Regions from separate parts of the Homo sapiens genome. Here all the other regions are linked to region 3. The links are contacts of gene promoters, found by promoter capture Hi-C in blood cells and fetal thymus (Javierre and others, 2016). All regions are on one chromosome and are shown on one strand. Each heading gives the region's core, a stretch centred on a gene start or on the middle of the fragment in contact. The rest is flanking DNA. Distances are from core to core; before and after follow the strand shown. Region 1 overlaps RBM19 (RNA binding motif protein 19). Region 2 has its middle 17 kb from the start of DTX1. Region 3 holds the start of SDS (serine dehydratase).

Region 1 (3,223 bases), core at 293-2,792, 510 kb before region 3:
CACCTGGTCCATCTGCATGGTTAGGCCCCCGCATGTTCCTCCTCGGGTTATTGATGAAGTGTCACAAGACCTTTGGAAACCAACTGGGGTCTTTCTTTGCAACTGGAGAGAAAGACACAATGGAGATTGGGTTTGGTGAGAAACCAGCCCCACCCTTAGCGGGGCTCCTTAAGTCCCTGGTGGCCCCGGAGTCTCTCAAATGAAGGTCAGCAGCCACCCAAGCACGGATGTGTCCCCCTGACGTCTGCAGCTGTTTTGGGTCCTATCACCTGGTGGGAGACGGCCTTCCTCTCCTTTCACGTTGGTCCCGCACCCCACGCACACTCCTTGAATCCATCACCTGAATATTCTGATGGAGGCGTAGTGGAGTCAATGTTGGGCAGGAGCTGCTGAAGCTCCGAATAACTTGGACCCTCTCCCCCCACCACTCCAGGCCAGCCGTGACATTGGCTCGGAAGAAACAAGTTCCCAGAAAGCAGACCACCTCCAAGATCCTGGTGCGGAACATCCCCTTCCAGGCCCACAGCCGGGAGATCCGAGAGCTCTTCAGGTGAGAACTTCAGGTTTAGTCCAGGGGACTGGCGTGTGGGCGGGGAGCCTGCCCGAGTCTCAGGGAAGATGGCCTTTGGGTCCTGGATGGTTCCGTTGCAGGCCGGCACAGTGGTCTTTCAAAGGTCATCTTTTGGCTGCTTTTGATTTATCTCCCTTAATCTCAGATGTGGCTCCCCAGAGCACTGTGCAGGAAAAAAGTCAAAACAGCCAGGCTTCCCCCTCTCCGAGGCAGATGGAGAAAGGGCAGGCAGGCTTCCCTGTCCCCATCCACAACGTGCAAGAGGGGCAGGGGCCCCAGTGGCTAAAACCCAGCCCTACCCATGATCTGCTTGAAATTTCCTCCATCCAGGCTACCCCTTTGGTTTAAGGTGCTGGTTTTCCACCTTAGCCACACATTCCAGCCACCTGGCAATGGCTAAAATACACCTTTCCCGAGGCTGCACCCCCAGAGAGTTGGATTCCATTTTTCAACAGTGGGGTCTAGACATCGGTGTTTTGCTAAAAGCTCCCCAGGGGATCCTAATGTCCAGCCGGGGTTGGGGACCAGTGGCCTAAATGACTCTATGGAAATGAAGGCGAATTACCTGCACACATAAAGCAGTCCGTCAGCACCTGCTTGCACAGGGGTGGAAAATGCAGCTGTCGCAGGGACCCAGCCGGTAACGGCAGCAGGCTGGGTGGGGACTGAGCAGCAGGCGGGCCTCTCTCTGGTCATCCAGCTGGGATGCCATGCAGGAACTCAGGCTTCGTAAGACCAGTTCCCATGTTTTGAAAGAGAAACCAGCCATGTGGATTCTTAAGGAGAATTCATCAGCAACTAATTCACTTTTTAAAAACAAAACAAGTCTGGCCTGCCCCAGGGCCCCTAGTTGGTGATCCCTACGCTGCCATGTTACAGTGTTTGGCTTTTCAGATTAGGTAGGCACCACCCAGCACCAAGCCATGAATGAAAGAAACGTCCTCATATCAGGGCCTAAGGGGAATGCTTGAAGCCAAGGCCCCCCCACCCAAGGCATGGGCAGGGTAATAGAGAGACCATCTAGCTCTCAGAATGCAAAGGCAGATGAAGTCAGCTTCACCTAAACACATTGTTGAGGCTTCGGTGGGATCCAGGACTGCTCGGGGGACCTGCAGCACCATGGCCTGCGCGTGGGTGAACATTTAGGATTCTAGACACTAGGTCTCGTTCGTTCATTCTACACTTGCACAAGGGTCCAAGAGTGAAGCCTCTGTTAGAGTTGCCAGTTAGCATCTTGCAAGGTAATCTGTGGTTACAAAATCAGCCTTGTGTTTTGGAGATGAGAAACAATTATCTTTGTGTGGCATCTACCTTCTTTGCTCTCACTCTGTAGTTTGAAGAATAAGAAGTCATGTGGGGAACTTCAGATATCTTTGTCCTCCTTTTCCCCTCTGTTTGTTCTAAATCATACACTAGTATTCAGTTCATAAACAGATGTGGTGTGTGGTGAGCTGGGATCTGAGGCAGAGACCAATCCTGCCAGTATCTGGGAAGCAGGATCTTAGCTATGATCTCCGGGTATCCTGCACAGCAGGAATAGCCTGGCGAGATGGGGTCATGACCTGGGGGGAGGTTTCCCATTTCCCTAAACCTCGACTGATCAGTCGTCCCTCCAGGAAGGTACATATCCTTAGCCTCTCGGTATGTCTGCTTGTTTAAACATGCTCTGCTTTTTAAAAGGAGTCCAACTTAAGAACTGCCAGATTAAAACGGGCTTGCTAAGAAGAGCGCATGTTGATCGGGAAATAATATCCCGCTGAAATGACAGTTTCACTTGGTTCTGCAGTATATTTAGGATGACACTTATCCGGGGAAACAAAAGACCACAAGGGAAGAGAGAGCACTTTGTGTGATCTCATGTATTATATTTATTTTTAGAAGACAGGGAATTAGTGTCCACTGAACATAATTACATGTGGTGACTCTTCTCCTTGCCATTGTTCTGATGAGAGTTTTCTTAAAACCCTGGAAACGTAAGACCTTCTTGGAGGGCCGTACCTGCTATTGTTGTTCACTCCGGCTGGGGATGTAAGGCAGTTCCTCGTTGCAGACAGCAGGGGTCGCTGTGAGCCTTCTCAGGGACTTCAAGATTGTCCAGGGAAGCCCCAGACAGGATTTCAGACAAAGCCACTGGCCGGTAAAGGTCATTAGCCAGGGGGAGGTTTCAGGGTTTCGGGGAACCAAGCTGGTCCATTTGGGCAGGCAGGTTCTATGGGTTTCTCCTACCAGGTGTAGTAAAAATCACAACTCCCTTTTATTACACGCTTGCTGTGTGCGGGGCTCTGAGCTTGAATGCCTTCCCGTGCAGAATCACCTCTTTTAAGCCGCACAGCAGCCCTGCGAGGGATGGATGCTGTCATTCCTTTTGCACCCAGACAGAAACTGGAGATGGAAACTAGGGAGATGGAGTGTCCTGCCTGGGACCATGCCGCTGAATGGGGATTTGGATCTAAGTCAGCCTAACCCAGAGCCCCGGCTTGGAGCCACTCCTCTCTGCTGCCTGTTTTCTTGGGTCTAGAAGGAACTGTCTTCCTCCAGATCATTCCAGTGGGACCAAATGACAGCGAGTGTGTCATTTATACCAGGCACTGTGCTAGGCACGAGGCATGTAGCCATTTCAGGAGAGACTCAGGTCTCTCTGTGGGGGACCAG
Region 2 (3,022 bases), core at 328-2,827, 360 kb after region 3:
CAGTCCCATAGGTATAGGGTGTGAGGATTAAATGACTTCATGACTGTTGCGTTCTTAGAACAATACCTAATTCAGAATGACCTCAGTTAATGTTAGCTAGCTTAAAAAAAATTAAACAAAAACATTATTGGCCGCGTGCTGTGGCTTACTCCTGTAATCCCAGCACTTTGGGAGGCCAAGGTGGGTGGATCACTTGAGGTCAGGAGTTCGAGACCAGCCTGAGCAACATGGTGAAACCCAGTCTTTACTAAAAATAAAAAAATTAGCCAGGTGTGGTGGTGCACGTCTGTAGTCCCAGCTACTTGGGAGGCTGAGGCATGAGAATTGCTTGAGCCCGGGGGGGGTGGAGGTTGCAGTGAGCCGAGATCTCACCACTACACTCTAGCCGGGTGACAGAGCCAGACTCTGTCTCAAAAAAAATTATTAAAAGCAGAATATTTCATCATTTACCATCTACCAGGTTGCTTCACTGTCTTCTAGGCTTGGGCTTTGAGGTCTGAGTGTGCCAGGGCGTTTAATGCCAGCTGCCACAACAGACAAACCCTGGACTTGCAGTGGCGAAACACAATCAAGGCTTGCTTCTCGCTCTTCTAAGGAGGAGGGCAGCCCTTCCCCAGAGAGAGCACGTGGCCTCGGGGTCACTGTGGCAGGGCAAGAGAGCGGTGGGGCTGCTCCATTTCACAACACCAGCTCTCCATTGCCTTAACTCCCAAAGTCACATGTCAGTCTCACTCCAGTTCCAGCCCAGGAACTAGGTCAGTGGAGGCAGGGATGAGGTGGTCAGTGCTGGGTTGGGGAGGTGGAGCCTGGGACAGAGGAATCACTAATGCAAACCATGGAGTCAGGGAGGCCTCAGGGAGGAAGTGATGACTAACTCGAAGCTTGAACAGGAACTTGCCTAGGACAATCCTGGGTGTGGTCCTGGGATAAACCCTGCAGGAGATTAAGGTTTCAACATTCAGGGTGAGAAACTAAATCTGGATATCTAGAGACAGCTGCACTCCAATGCTCATTCCATCATTATTCACAATAACCAAGATACGGAAACAACCCAGGTGTTCATGGCAGACGATGGATAACGAAACCGTGGTATATACACAAAGATTATTCAGCCTTCCAAAAAGGGAAACTCTGCCATTTACAACAACCTTGATGAACTTGGAGGACATTATGCTAAGTGAAATAAGCCAAACACAAAAAGAAAAACACTGCAGGATCTCACTAGTAAGCGAAATCTAAGAGTCAAATTCATAGATGCAGAGAGTAGAAGGGCTGTATCTGGATTATCTTGAGATGGGAGATGACCCTTGAGAAAGAAGGATGGGGGTAGAACTGGGTGATTCATTGAGGATTTGGCGGACCCAGGAGACATTACCCTGACACATTCAGATCCCAAAACCCTAGCCTAGAAGATAGCGAAGAATCTCTTGGCTGGGGTTCTCAGCCTGGGGATCACAGACTCCTTTGAACTTGGATGGGGAAAGTGATATCTTTATTCTCATTAACTGTGAATTGAAAGACAGCATTTCCTTCTACTATGAACATAGGCAACAAACCACAATGGTGTGAGTAGCGTCTGACTGTGTCATGAATAGAATCCTATAGTTTCCTATTACATTTCACTTGTTGGTGCTGTCTCAAAATATATTGCTTTTACTCATCACTGCTTTGAAGTATTACAGTAATTAGACTGGGATCTTCATTTTATTTTATTTTTTGAGATGGAGTCCCACTCTGTTGCCCAGGCCAGAGTGCAGTGGCGCAATCTCAGCTCACTGCAGTCTCTGCCTCCTGAGTCCAAGCCATTCTCCTGCCTCAGCCTCCCAAGTAGCTGGGATTAAAGGCGTGCACCATCACACTCGGCTAATTTTTGTATTTTTAGTAGAGATGGGGTTTCGCCATATTGGCCAGGCTGGTCTTGAACTCCTGACCTCAGGTGATCCACCAGCCTCAGCCTCCCAAAGTGCTGGGATTACAGGGGTGAGCCACCTAGCCCAGGTTATTTTAACACAGCCTGAATTAATTGTAGCTCAAGAGGGGTGCCCCTAACAACCTGCAGCTGAGGAGTCTTGCTGAGATCTGCCAGGCTTTGGGCAGCACTGGTGCAGTGGACTGAATGTCTATGTCTCCTCAACCCCTAAATTCATACATTGAACTCCTAACCCACAGTGTGATGGTGTGAGGAGGTGATGTGAGAAGGTGATTAAGTCATGCAGGTGGGGACTTCATGAATGGGATTAGTGCCCTTATAAAAGGATCCCTGGAAAGCTTCCTTACCCCTTCAGCCATATGAAGACACAGAGAGAAGGCAGCTACCTATGAACCAGGCAGCTACCTATGAACCAGGAAGAAGGCCTTCATCAGACACCAAATCTGCAGACGCCTTGATCTTGTATTTGCCAGTCTCTGGAACTATGAGCACCACATTTCTGTAGTTTCTAAGCCACCCAGTCTATGTATTTTGTTATGGCAGTCCTGAAAGTAACCCCCGTTGGTGAGGGTCTTTCTCTGGGTCTTAAATCAGCATGACTGCAATGGGAGGCACCCAGCCTGGGTGGGGGGGCTGCACCCCGGCTTCAGGGCTCAGTGGGAAGACTTTGGGGGCTTCTTATCATTCAAGGGAGAACAGCTCTTTCTTTCTTTCTCCTTTCTTTCTTTCTTTCTTTCTTTCTTTCTTTCTTTCTTTCTTTCCTCCCTCCCTCCCTCCCTTCTTTCTTTCTTTCTCTTTCTTTCTTTCTTTCTTTCTCTCTCTTTCTCTCTCTCTCTTTCTTTCTCTTTCTTTCTTTCTTTCTTTCTTTCTTTCTTTCTTTCTTTCTTTCTTTCTCTCTCTCTCTCTCTCTCTCTCTTTCTTTCTTTCTTTCTTTCTTTCTTTCTTTCTTTCTTTCTTTCTTTCTTTCTTTCCCTTCTTTTTTTTGAGACAGAATCACTCTGTCACCCAGGCTGGAGTGCAGTGGTGCGATCTCGGTTCACTGCAACCTCCACCTCCCAGGTTCAAGTGATTCTCTTGCCTCAGTCTCCTGAG
Region 3 (3,409 bases), core at 604-3,103:
TTTTTTTTCCAGCTGTGGGTATTTAGCCAATTCATGAGACCTTGTTCGCCATAATATGAAACTTTCCTTCAGATTTGACCAAGTCAAATGGAGTTGGTCCAGTCCAATGGGGAAAAGACAGAAGCAACAAAACAACAACAGAAACAAAAACAGTTAAGCAAGGGAAACAAACAATCAAGCAATTTATACGATTACTGCACGCTCTAAAAGTAGGGAGAAATTAAGACCAGCTGGTTGTTAACCCTAACTTCTAGTCATGGGGCCCAGGCTGAAGACCGCTCTCTACCATCCTAGAAGCGGGGAAATCTCAAACTTGCCTTCCCTGCCGGACACAAGCGAAACTCCAGAAAGGAGCTGCCTGCTTGCCATCATCATGGAAGCCAGAAAACTCACCTTCCTTGTTGGAAGTGAGTAAAACGCAGAAAAGGAGCTGTTCAGGGAAATCAAGCTTAGATATCAACCAATTGTGGGAGATCAGGAGTTCTCTGGAGGTGGGGAGCTCCCAGGCCTCAGCAAACTGTCCTATTTTGGAGGGCAATCAAGATCGCTCAAGGCCGGCATGGTGGCTCACGCCTGTAATCCCAGCACTCTAGGAGACTGAGGCGGGTGGATCACTTGAGGTCAGGACTTCAAGACCAGCCTGGCTAACATGGTGAAACCCCATCTCTACTAAAAATACAAAAAATTAGCTGAGTGTGGTGGCACATGCCTATACTCCCAGTTATTTGGGGGGTTGAAACAGGAGCATCGCTTGAACCCAGGAGATGGAGGTTGCAGTGAGCCAAGATCATGCCATTGCACTCCAGCCAGGGTGACAGAGCAAGACCCACCAAGCACCAGTAGGAGACTTGTCAAAGGTCAGGGCCACCTCCACCCAGGGTCCCTTTCATGAGTCTCCAATCTGTAAATCAAAAAGAATCAAAAAGATTGAGACAGGACTCAATCCATTTAGAAATTTATTTCGCCAGGGTTAAGAATGCACCTGGGAGACAGGTCTGTGCTTTTCTCCAGAGATGACTTTAGGTGTCAGTATTTAAAGGAGAAAAGCAAGCTGGAGGGGAAAGAAGGAGGCTATGGCCACATTACCAAATCCACAGTTTGTAAGAGAAGAGGGGCAGATAGGGAAGTAGCCAATTATGTATTTGTCTTGATCTCAATAAATCGGCACTTTACATAAGATAAGGTGAACATAGAGTAGCGACCTGTGGAGATATTTAACTTTTTTTTTTCTTTCTGTTGTGAAGGCTGGAGTGCAGTGGCGAGATCTAGTCTCACTGTAACCTCTGCCTCCCAGGTTCAAGCAATTCTTGTGCCTCAGCCTCCTGAGTAGCTAGGATTACAGGCACGTGCCACCACACCCGGCTGATTTTTGTATTTTTAGTAGAGACGGGATTTCACCATGTTGGCCAGGCTGGTTTCGAATTCCTGACCTCAGGTGATCCACCCGCCTCGGCCTCCCAAAATGCGGAGCCAATATTTAACCTTTCATCTGAAGCTATCTGCTTAGGAACTAAAGGAAAGGCAGTTTCTTACATGACTCAGCTTTTAGCTTAATTCTTTTTCTTTTGGCATAGTGAGTTGGGGGTCCCAATTTTTTATTTTCCTTTCACGAAACTGAGGACAGAAAGGGGAAGTGGAAAGAGGGAGGAGGAGTGGGTTGTGGGAAAGGCAGGAGGAAGCTGCCAAAGAAGAAAGCTTGGCCAGATTCCACCTCCCTTCTGACAGCCTCAGTGGCCTCAAGCCAGGGGGGTGGGTCCTGGCAGGAGGGAGGGGGGGGTGTAGCCAGCCCCAGGGCCCCATTGGCTGCCCAGAGGTGCCAGAGGAATAAAGCCCAGGACCAAGTAGCCCCTGGGACCATTCAGAAGACTGTCCACCCGTCCTCAGCCCCCTCTCTTCGTGGGCTATCTACTCAGTTGATCCCTCCCTCGCTGGCTTGGCTCTGACTCCTGCTCAGACCCATCACCTTTGCCGGGTAAGTGGCCCCATCCTCAGTCCCACCTCAGGACTGGAGTGTCCCGGGCTAGCCTGTGGTTTCCCAGGGGAAGAGGGAGACATAGAAAGAGTCTGTCAAGGCTGGGCATGGTGGCTGATGCCTGTAATCCCAACACTTTGGAAGGCTGAGGTGGGAGGGTTGCTTGAGGCCACAAGTTCAAGACTGAGCTGGGCAACAGAGTGAGACCCCCCCCAATCTCTACAAAAAAAATTTTTTTTTTTTAAGACAGAGGTCTCACTCTGTCACCCAGGCTGAAGTGCAATGGCACAATCTGGGCTCACTGCAACCTCCACCTCCTGGGTTCAAGCGATTCTCCTGCCTCAGCCTCCCGAGTAGCTTGGACTACAGGCGTGTGCCACCACGCCCGGCTAATTTTTGTATTTTTAGTAGAGATGGGGTTTCACCATGTTGGCCAGGCTGGTCTCGAACTCCTGACCTAAAAAAAGAATTTAATTAGTATAGTGTGGTGGTGCACACCTGTAGTCCCAGCTACTGGGAAGGCTGAGTTGGGAGGATCGCTGGAGCCCAAGAGGTCGAGTCTGCAGTGAGCAATTATTGCGCCCCTGCACTCCAGCCTGGGTGACACAGCAAGACCTTGTCTCAAATTTTTAAAAAACAGCCATTTGGGCCTAAACACTGAGTTTGTGTCCAGTTCTGTGCCTCAGCTTCCACATCTGTAGAATGGGGATGAGCATAGCGCCTTCCTCCTCAGGTGGTTGTGACGGTGAAAGGATGACCTGCACTTAAGGTGTCCAGCCCAGATTTCATAATAGTTCATATCGACTGAGCACTTACTGTGAACCAAGTGAAAGGGAAGGTGGCTTCCGACTGCCGGAGTGGGCAGACAGCGGCTTCAGGGCTCCCTCCCTCCTCCTCCCCGGGCACAACCTCTTCTGAAGTCTTGCGATCCTTGGGGCAGGGATCCTTGGGGCAGGCTGGATGCAGTTAATGGATGCTCACTTCACGGAAAGCCGCGGCAGAGGGAGCCCTGTCCTTTTACCTGAAGGCATCCCATGGCACCGCCTGGGACAAACGGCGAGAGAGGCGCCCCAAACCCACCTGAAAAGGGTCTTCGTGGCCGGCTCCTCTGACTCCCACCCCGATTGTCCCTGAGGCCAGGCCTTGGTGACCTACACCGGCCTTTAATGTCAAGTCAGTCGGTGTGGTGGCTCACGCCTGTAATCCCAGCACTTTGGGAGGCCAAGGCAGGCAGATGACTTGAGGTCAGGAGTTCGAGACCAGCCTGCCCAATATGGTGAAACCTTGTCTCCACTAAAAATGCAAAAATTATTCGGGCGTGGTGGTGCACGTCTGTGATCCCAGCTACTTGGGAGGCTGAGGCAGGAAAATCGCTTGAACCCAGAAGGCGGAGGTTGCAGTGAGCCGAGATCATGCCGCTGCACTCCAGCCTGGGTG

Evidence for each region. Contacts are between HindIII fragments. The CHiCAGO score rates a contact against its expected background, and 5 or more counts as called.
Region 1: a fragment that was not itself captured here is called in contact with the fragment with the promoter of SDS in region 3 in 1 of 17 cell types (M2 macrophages); the score reaches 5.8 in M2 macrophages.
Region 2: a fragment that was not itself captured here is called in contact with the fragment with the promoter of SDS in region 3 in 1 of 17 cell types (fetal thymus); the score reaches 5.7 in fetal thymus.

Annotation. Positions count from the first base shown.
Region 1 is chr12:113,912,296-113,915,518 of GRCh38, reverse strand. It overlaps RBM19 (RNA binding motif protein 19), which reads left to right. Exons shown (of 24, transcript NM_016196.4): 21 at 434-550. Among named protein-coding and RNA genes, the nearest start is that of RBM19, 52 kb to the left of the region's middle. The HindIII fragment of the contact is 6,170 bases long and covers 1-3,223 here.
Region 2 is chr12:113,038,659-113,041,680 of GRCh38, reverse strand. No RefSeq gene overlaps it. Among named protein-coding and RNA genes, the nearest start is that of DTX1, 17 kb to the left of the region's middle. The HindIII fragment of the contact is 1,387 bases long and covers 884-2,270 here.
Region 3 is chr12:113,402,331-113,405,739 of GRCh38, reverse strand. It overlaps SDS (serine dehydratase), which reads left to right and starts at 1,853. Exons shown (of 8, transcript NM_006843.3): 1 at 1,853-1,972. The HindIII fragment of the contact is 9,232 bases long and covers 1,698-3,409 here.